3 separate regions of the Homo sapiens genome follow, and regions 2 and 3 are each linked to region 1. Evidence: promoter capture Hi-C in 16 types of primary human blood cells and fetal thymus (Javierre and others, 2016). All regions are on one chromosome and are shown on one strand. Each heading gives the region's core, a stretch centred on a gene start or on the middle of the fragment in contact. The rest is flanking DNA. Distances are from core to core; before and after follow the strand shown. Region 1 holds the start of FAM78A (family with sequence similarity 78 member A). Region 2 overlaps PRRC2B (proline rich coiled-coil 2B). Region 3 overlaps AIF1L (allograft inflammatory factor 1 like).

What was found. Contacts are between HindIII fragments. The CHiCAGO score rates a contact against its expected background, and 5 or more counts as called.
Region 2: a fragment that was not itself captured here is called in contact with the fragment with the promoter of FAM78A in region 1 in 2 of 17 cell types (naive CD4 T cells and non-activated CD4 T cells); the score reaches 5.9 in naive CD4 T cells.
Region 3: a fragment that was not itself captured here is called in contact with the fragment with the promoter of FAM78A in region 1 in 4 of 17 cell types (erythroblasts, megakaryocytes, fetal thymus and 1 more); the score reaches 9.7 in erythroblasts.

Annotation. Positions count from the first base shown.
Region 1 is chr9:131,275,185-131,277,788 of GRCh38, reverse strand. FAM78A (family with sequence similarity 78 member A) reads left to right here and starts at 1,279. Exons shown (of 2, transcript NM_033387.4): 1 at 1,279-1,932. The coding sequence starts at 1,610. RefSeq lists a silencer at 1-1,109 and enhancers at 1,750-2,249, 2,410-2,459, 2,490-2,539, 1,952-2,564, 2,550-2,599. The HindIII fragment of the contact is 5,571 bases long and covers 1-2,059 here.
Region 2 is chr9:131,499,176-131,501,779 of GRCh38, reverse strand. PRRC2B (proline rich coiled-coil 2B) reads right to left here. Exons shown (of 32, transcript NM_013318.4): 32 at 1,587-2,604. It also overlaps the pseudogene LOC124902290. Among named protein-coding and RNA genes, the nearest start is that of POMT1, 2.4 kb to the left of the region's middle. RefSeq lists an enhancer at 565-1,764. The HindIII fragment of the contact is 1,286 bases long and covers 677-1,962 here.
Region 3 is chr9:131,122,164-131,124,767 of GRCh38, reverse strand. It overlaps AIF1L (allograft inflammatory factor 1 like), which reads right to left. Exons shown (of 6, transcript NM_031426.4): 6 at 1,624-2,604. Among named protein-coding and RNA genes, the nearest start is that of NUP214, 2.1 kb to the left of the region's middle. The HindIII fragment of the contact is 4,223 bases long and covers 1-2,604 here.

The sequences.
Region 1 (2,604 bases), core at 30-2,529:
GCGCGCGGGGTGGGGGCGAGAGAGCCCCGAGCCTCAGCCCTCCGCCCCCGGCCGCCCCCCCGAAGCCCCAAGCCGGGAGGAGGGTGGGGGCCGGGGGCGCCCACGCCGGCCCCAGACTCCAGTAGAGCCAAGGGACAGTGCCCGGGGAAGGGGGTGGGGGCGCCCCAAGAACGTGCCCGCGGCCGGGTCAGGGGCGTCCGGAGAGCGGCTGCCCGGGCCAGCGGAGTGGCCCCCGGGGCAGGTGAGTCGGCGGCGCCGCCCGAGTGGGGGCGTGCGCGCCAAAGTTCCCCGGCAGCGGCGAGCGCGCCCGACGCGTGGGGACCCGGGGCTGCTCGCGGCTGGAGAGGGGCGACAGAGGCGCTTGACGCGGCGGAGCGGGGGCACTATGCCCTCCGAGGGCCGAGGGACCCCAGCCGGGAAAGGGGTGCCCGCCGGATCCGACGGCACTGGTGGGTGGCCCTGCGCCCAGGGAGCCGGAGGGACCGGGGTGGGGAAGGGGCACCTGGCGCTGGCGGCGCGGCGGTGGGGACAGAGCAGGGCAAGTGCTCGCCGCCCCCTGCAGCGGCAGCCGCTCGCCCCCCACCCCGCCCGTCCGGGACGGTATCAGCGGAGATGTCACGGGCGGCTATTATTCGCTGGTGCGCGCGGTCGTGCGGCCGCCACTGACGGGGCGGGCGCGGGGGGCGGGGGCCACCGCCTCCGGGGAGACCGCCCAGAGCTGCGCCGTCAGCTCCGCAGCCCGCGCCCAGCGCACACGCGTCGCCGCCCCCGCGCGCCCCCCGCAGCAAAGTTCGGCTTAACTTTGAGGCTGGCCTTGACGCGCTGTCCCTTCCACCTCCCACCAGGTCCTCGGCGGCCGCGGCGAAGCAGGCGGCGGCGGCCGGAGCGCAGCCCCGGGACCCTGCACGGCGGCCGGCAGCGACAGCGGCGAAGGGACGCGGCGCCCCTGCGTGGGGACGTCCGGCCCGCGCCCGCGAGTGGGCGCCGACGGGGACCCGCGCCGCGCTCCCCCGTCACCGGCGAGCGGCCGGAGCCCTGAGCTCGCCTCCTGGAAGCCGCGGGTCGGCGCTCGCCCCGAGGGCGCCGGGACCTCGGCCGGGTGAACACAAACTGCTCTGCAATTGATTCGACCGCGCCGGGCGGGTGCGGGTGCGGGGCCCGGAGGGAGCGCGTGCGGAAGGCCGGAGGGCAGGAAGTCAGGCTTCTGCCGCGAGGGTGGCGCGGCCGCGCGGGGACAGAGCCTTCCTTATTTATGAGTCTGCCGGCGCTCGCCTGCTTCCTCCGAAGACTTCAGGGAGAGTCTGCGAGCTGCCGTCCCCGCGTGTGAGGCACAGAAGGGCTGGATGTCAGAACCGCATAATTATTCATTAAACTACAAACTTTTTTTAACCCAAAGAATATCGGTGATTTTTGTCCACTGCGAGGAGAAGAAGAGAGAGCCCAGGGCTCATGAAATGCAGCAGAATCCTTATTTATAAACAGGCCGCGGTAGTGATATATGCAACCCCAGTCTACTCAGTGAGTTTTCTATCCTATGGATATCGGTCTTGAGAGTTGAGATTGGAGAGCAGCGCCGTCTGTACTGGGTCCTGCAGCCTCTGTCCTTTCAATGCCTGGTTTTTTCTGTGACTGCTGGCCTTCCCTGGAGATCAGAGCGCTCCTGTATGCCATGGGCTGTATTCAGAGCATCGGAGGCAAAGCCAGAGTCTTCCGGGAAGGGATCACGGTGATTGATGTGAAAGCCTCCATCGACCCCGTCCCCACTAGCATCGATGAGTCCTCCAGCGTGGTGCTCCGCTACCGGACACCCCACTTCCGGGCCTCGGCCCAGGTGGTCATGCCGCCCATCCCCAAGAAGGAGACTTGGGTAGTTGGCTGGATCCAGGCGTGCAGCCACATGGAGTTCTACAACCAGTACGGCGAGCAGGGCATGTGAGTACGGCCGAGAGCCAGCTCTGGGAACTGCTAGGGATGGCCGAGCTTGGAGGCCTGGTGGGGGGCCGCGGATAGGGGGAAGGTGGAGATACCATGAAGACAGGACGGAGGCCAGAGGGAAGCTTTAGGCAGGTATGCAGGTGGCCTCATTGGCCCGGTGGCTCCCTGAAAAGTTTGCCTGTGGATCCAGATTGGAGTCACGGTCCTGCAATCTACCCTGCCACTGTTCCCCCCGGGTTCCTGTGTCCTTCCCTGCAAGATGCCGAGAAAGCAGAGAGACATTACTCCCAGTGTTTCCTGGCAGAGCAAGTGTGCCGTCCGCCTGAGGAGTGTCTGTGCCATCAGGGGTCACCAGAGAGGCTGCAGGGCTGCCCTCCAGGCCTCTGGCCCTGTGCGGGCCCATGGCAGACATTCAGGCACTCTGCAACTCCCAGACCGGTGTGTTCAGGGCTTTGCGATTGGGCCTCAATTATCTTTCTGGCTTTTACCAGTGTATGCCAGGAGCTGGGGGAGTGCTTCCCCGTTCCAAACGGCACTGTGTTTGAGAGCACAGTTAGTTTTAGAAGCCCGATTTCTTCACAGTGTATCGCTTTCTGTCTCCAAGGCAGAAGACCGCTTTATGCAGACAAGTCCAGTGTCCCTCTGGCGAGGCCCTAACAGGAACAGCAA
Region 2 (2,604 bases), core at 70-2,569, 220 kb before region 1:
AGTGAGACCGTCTCAAAACAAAAAACAAAACCAAAAAAACCTGGACATCAGTGGGGGCTGCATGACCATCAGAGGCTCCAGTGGGGGCATCTCCCCTAAACTCCGTGGCAGAAGACTGGAGGCTTCTTCCTCCATTCCCAGGGCTCCTCCTCATCCATCAGCCTCTCCAGCCCCCTCTGCTGAGGGTCAAGAGCCTTCCCAAAGGCCTGCTTTGGAGCAGACATGGTACTTTTGGTTGGGTCAATGCACCCCTTCCCATGTTTTCCCTGAACAGTCGGCACCCAGAGCAGGGTAACTGACAGCAACGCAACCAGGCTGATGGATCACTCTTCTCAGCCTCGCTCCTTCTTGATCTCCTGGTCTATTTGTATGTTAATCTATACAGACCAAAAGGGCACACTGCAGGTTTAATAACCTTCATTATGGTTCTTGGCTGCCTGCAAGACTTTTTTTCCATGTTGGGCAACATAGCATTAGATGACACCAGTTAGAATTTCGTGGTTACTTCTTTATGGCTTACCCTTGAGGGGTTATGTGACTCACCCAAGATCCCACAGAGAGGCAAGGAGCTGGGGCTCACCTGGGTTTGTGGCCAGAGCCTGCAGGCAACTGTATTTACAGTGGGCAGGGAGGGTTCCCTGGGCCCCAGGAGGGAGTGGGGCTGGGCTGTTAAGCTTTGGTTCATGCCATGCTAACAGTGGTGGTGCCTCAGGACTTACAGCCTCCATCTTGCAAGCCCCCAACCTTAGGACTAGCCTCTTTCAGGGCTGGTCTCCGTTTGAGATTTTGTGAGCCACCTGTCCCTAGGGAGCAGTAAATCAGGGCAGTGAGTGTGGCTAGTTAAAGCTGAGATGCCCATGGCCAGGTCCCCAACTCTCTTCCATAGTCAAAAGGCTTAGAAGGAAGTTGAGGGACTGGGGTTCCTCATGGAAACAGCGTTTTATTTCTTGGGGGTAATTTATAAGTTTTCTTAGCTGGTTCTAGGCACTAAGCTAAAAGCTACTGGTGACTTTGAATCCACACTACGCCATGAGGTCGATACCATTACAATCTGTGTTTTATGATTAAGGAGACTGACTCAGGTGGTGAAACGTCTTTCCCCAGGTCAGTGAGGCAATGGCAAAACCGAGAACTGCTGCCTCAGCCCATTCTTACCTTTTACCCTTCGCTACCCCAGGCCTGGCTTGCTCCCTCCCCACCCCAAAGCACAGCATAATCCTCCTCCACTTCCTGCAAAAGCACCGCTAGAAGTGACAACACAACACGCCACATCAAATGCTTACCTCCTCTGACCAGCTCGTTTCTCACGGCAAGTGACGGGGCCACAGGCAGGCACTGTGCACAACCAGATGCCATCCGTGGGAAGAGGGTGGAGTGCTTGATGCTGCCGCATTTGGAAGATGCTTCTTAGCCACGGGTTTCAATCCCTTCTCTACCCACACAGCTTCTGTTAAGGCATTTCAGCCGTGCCACTCCTAATTTCCGTGTGAACTCTGTAAAATTAGAATTCTTTGATCTGTAGGTCTCTCTGGTCAAATGACCAAGAAACGAGGGATGTACAACCTGAGAAAGCACGTTCAGCTTTATCTTTTTAAACTTTTTTTATTTAAATAAGGAGAATTCTTTCATATGGAAAGAGCTAGTACAATCACATATTTGAAAGGAGAAACAATAGGTACTGAACCGGAGGGAAAGGGCGAGGGTGAGTGTGCCAGCACCGGCCTGGTGAATCCACGATTCGATTTCCCATCCAAGGTAAGTTTCCCAAAATACCGTATAAACAAGCTGCACATTACACCTCTAGCCATCGTCTGCCCTTTCAAATATCTGGTCTACATGGAAAGACAAAGAGGAAAGGCCAAAACATAAACAAAAGGAAACAAAAACAAAACACAACCCTCTCAGGAACCAAACAAAACCCCCAAATCCTTTTTTACTACACAAGGCATGAGGTCAAAAGCTTGAGTACAGTGTCCCCTTTAGATCACGGGAGAAAGGCGTCCACACAGAGCCTTAGCAGGAATTTCCACTCTGAGGCTTCAGAACATGCTGAAGATGGGGCTCTGAGGGTGCCACTACCATCCTGGAGGCCACCAAGTGGGGTGGAAACAGTGAAGAGCAGGTCTCACATGCCCGAAGACCACCAGCCAACTACACATTGGTGGCCCTGGTGGAGCATGGCTGGGCGACAGCGTCCATCCCCAACACTGAGCCACTCCTGTCCTGGATGACTTCCTGCTTAGGTCCGTCACATTTCAGAAGAGAGCTGGCTTTCTGGAAGCCTACGTTTCCCATTCATCACAGAACACGACAGAGTGCACACATCCTGGTATCCTTGGTCTTCAAAGGCCATTTCCAGCAGACCCTCTAACCCAGGCTTGTTCTGCAGGAAGTGAAAAGGGACAAATGAAGATTTGAGGGGCAGCCTGCAGCTACTTGGCACAGGGGAACCAAATGGCAAGGGAGAAGGCTCCACCAGAGCTGCCATGCTGCCGTAGCAGGCCAGACCACAGCATGGCTGTGCACCTGTGTGTGCTCAGCTTCCAGAAGCTGTCACTGACCATCGCGAAGGCAGATCCAGAAGATAGGAGGGTGACAGCACGG
Region 3 (2,604 bases), core at 77-2,576, 150 kb after region 1:
TAGTCTCAGCTACTCGGGAGGCTGAGGTGGGAGAATTGCCTGAGCCCAGGAGGTTGAGGCTACAGGGAGCTGTGATTGCACCATTGCACTCCAGCCTGGGTGACAGAGCCAGGCCCTGTCTCAAAAAGTAAATAAAAGGCCGGGCGCGGTGGCTCACGCCTGTAATCCCAGCACTTTGCGAGGCCGAGGCGGGCGGATCACGAGGTCAGGAGATGGAGACCATCCTGGCTAACACGGTGAAACCCCGACTCTACTAAAAATACAAAAAATTAGCCGGGCGCGGTGGCGGGCACCTGTAGTCCCAGCTACTCGGGAGGCTGAGGCAGGAGAATGGCGTGAACCCGGGAGGCGGAGGTTGCAGTGAGCAGAGACAGCGCCACTGCAGTCTGGCCTGGGCGAAAGAGCGAGACTCCGTCTCAAAAAAAAAAAAAAAAAAAAAGTAAATAAAAATAGGCTGGGAGCAGTGGCTCACGCCTGTAACCACAGTACTTTGGGAGGCCGAGGTGGGTGGAACACCTGAGGTCAGGAGCTCGAGACCAGCCTGGCCAACATGGTGAAACCCCGTCTCTGCTAAAAATACAACAATTAGCCGGGTGTGGTGGCGGACGCCTGTGTTCCCAGCTATACAGGAGGCTGAGGCAGGAGAATCGCATGAACACAAAAGGTGGAGGTTGCAGTGAGCTAAGATTGTGCCACTGCACTCCAGCCTGGGTGACAGAGTGAGACTCTGTCTCAGAAAAAAAAAAAAAAAAAAAAAAAAATATATATATATATATATATATACACACACACACACACATATATATATACACACACACACATATATATATATATACACACACACACATACACATACATAATAATAATTGATGAGGTAAGGGAGGCACAGAGAAGTTGAGAAAATTCTCCAATAGCCCTCAGTCAGAAAGTGGTGGTGACAGGATTAGAATTGAGATCGTCTGGATAAGGCTGACTGATGGTATTAAAGTCCTTCATAGAATACATTTCTGTAGTGAATTATAAATGCTCTAGGACAGAGGTTCTTTTTTTTTTTTGAGACGGAGTCTCACTCTGTCACTCATGCTGGAGTGCAGTGGCGCGATCTCGGCTCACTGCAAGCTCTGCCTCCCGGGTTCACAGCATTCTCCTGCCTCAGCTTCCCAAGTAGCTGGGACTACAGGCGGCCGCCACCACGCCCGGCTAATTTTTTGTATTTTTAGTAGAGACGGGGTTTCACCGTGTTAGCCAGGATGGTCTCCATCTCCTGACCTCGTGATCCGCCCACCTCAGCCTCCCAAAGTGCTGGGATTACAGGCGTGAGCCACCGCGCCCGGCCGACAGAGGTTCTTAACTTGGACCTCATGGGTTGGCTCCAGGGGGGTCGGATTGTGCCATTTACTGTTTGGCTTGCAGCACATTGCTTATTCAAGCCTACTTTTCAGTTGTGAAACAAGGATGACATAATAGAACCTGTCTCTTGCAGGGAGGTGGTTAGGATAAGTGAATTTCAGCTGTCTCAGACAAAAGGCACAGGACATGCTCATTTAATCTCTTACTATATTAGCTAGTTCGCAATTTGCTGAGCCCAGAACCAGCCCCAAAATACACCAATCAAGACGTTGGTAAGTTTGTCTGGTTTATTTGCAGGCTGTAGAGATGATATCCCAGTCCACGCACACTCCCATGCACACGCACACACATACTTCATCCACCTGAATTTGCCCGACAAACCCTCCTCTGAGTCATAGGGACAAAGCCATACTTGGCAGTCCTCACGTTACTGGTTACATTAGATTTGGTCTTTCAGAAAGAAGATGGTTGAAGTCCCAAGAAGCTGAGCCCTTAGCCAGAGAAGTAAGAGTCCTAGAACCAAGAGCCACAACCTGAAATAGATGCAGACTGCCCCCGCCCTCCTTCCAGGGACAACTCTTGAGACCCTCTCCTCCCAGGAGTTGAGTCTCAAGAAATGAAGGGACTGATGGGGTTTCCCAGGACACACGAGCCCCCACCCCCATTCAATGAGAAAACCCTCTCTTCTGCCATTTCCAGAAGCTGGGGCCACACCTGCTTGCTCTCCTCCCTTAAGGAGAATTCCTGCAGTCTTGTAGAACTGTGGAACTTACTGAAATAAGCCTGACTGGTTCTGCCTTCCTCTCTGAGTGAGGAACAGGGACACTGAATATGATGGGTAGTGAAGGAAGGCTTTATCTTCCTCAAAGGTCCCAGCCTGTCCCAGAGAGGAGAGGCAGTGAGGAGGGGTGAGGACATCTAATGATCTTGGGGAAAAAAAAAACAAAAAACAGGGCAGGGTGGGGGTAGAAGTAGGATTTTCCATTTACAGGGAGGAATGTTTTGCTGGGGTTTAAACTTCAACTAGGCCTGTGTGCATTTGAAGCAGATCCTTGAGCTCAAGATCAGCCAGTCATGGCCAAATAACCTCATTCCTGAACTGGTTGAAACCAGTGGGTTAACCCAACCTGGCCATTTCCTCATGCCTTACCTGTTTTCCTCCCTCAATCTGCTATCAGAGGTGACTAAGGAGCCGCAGGGAACCCACGTTGGCTCCAACCACCAAGACCTCCCAGTCCTGTCCACTTAAGGTGT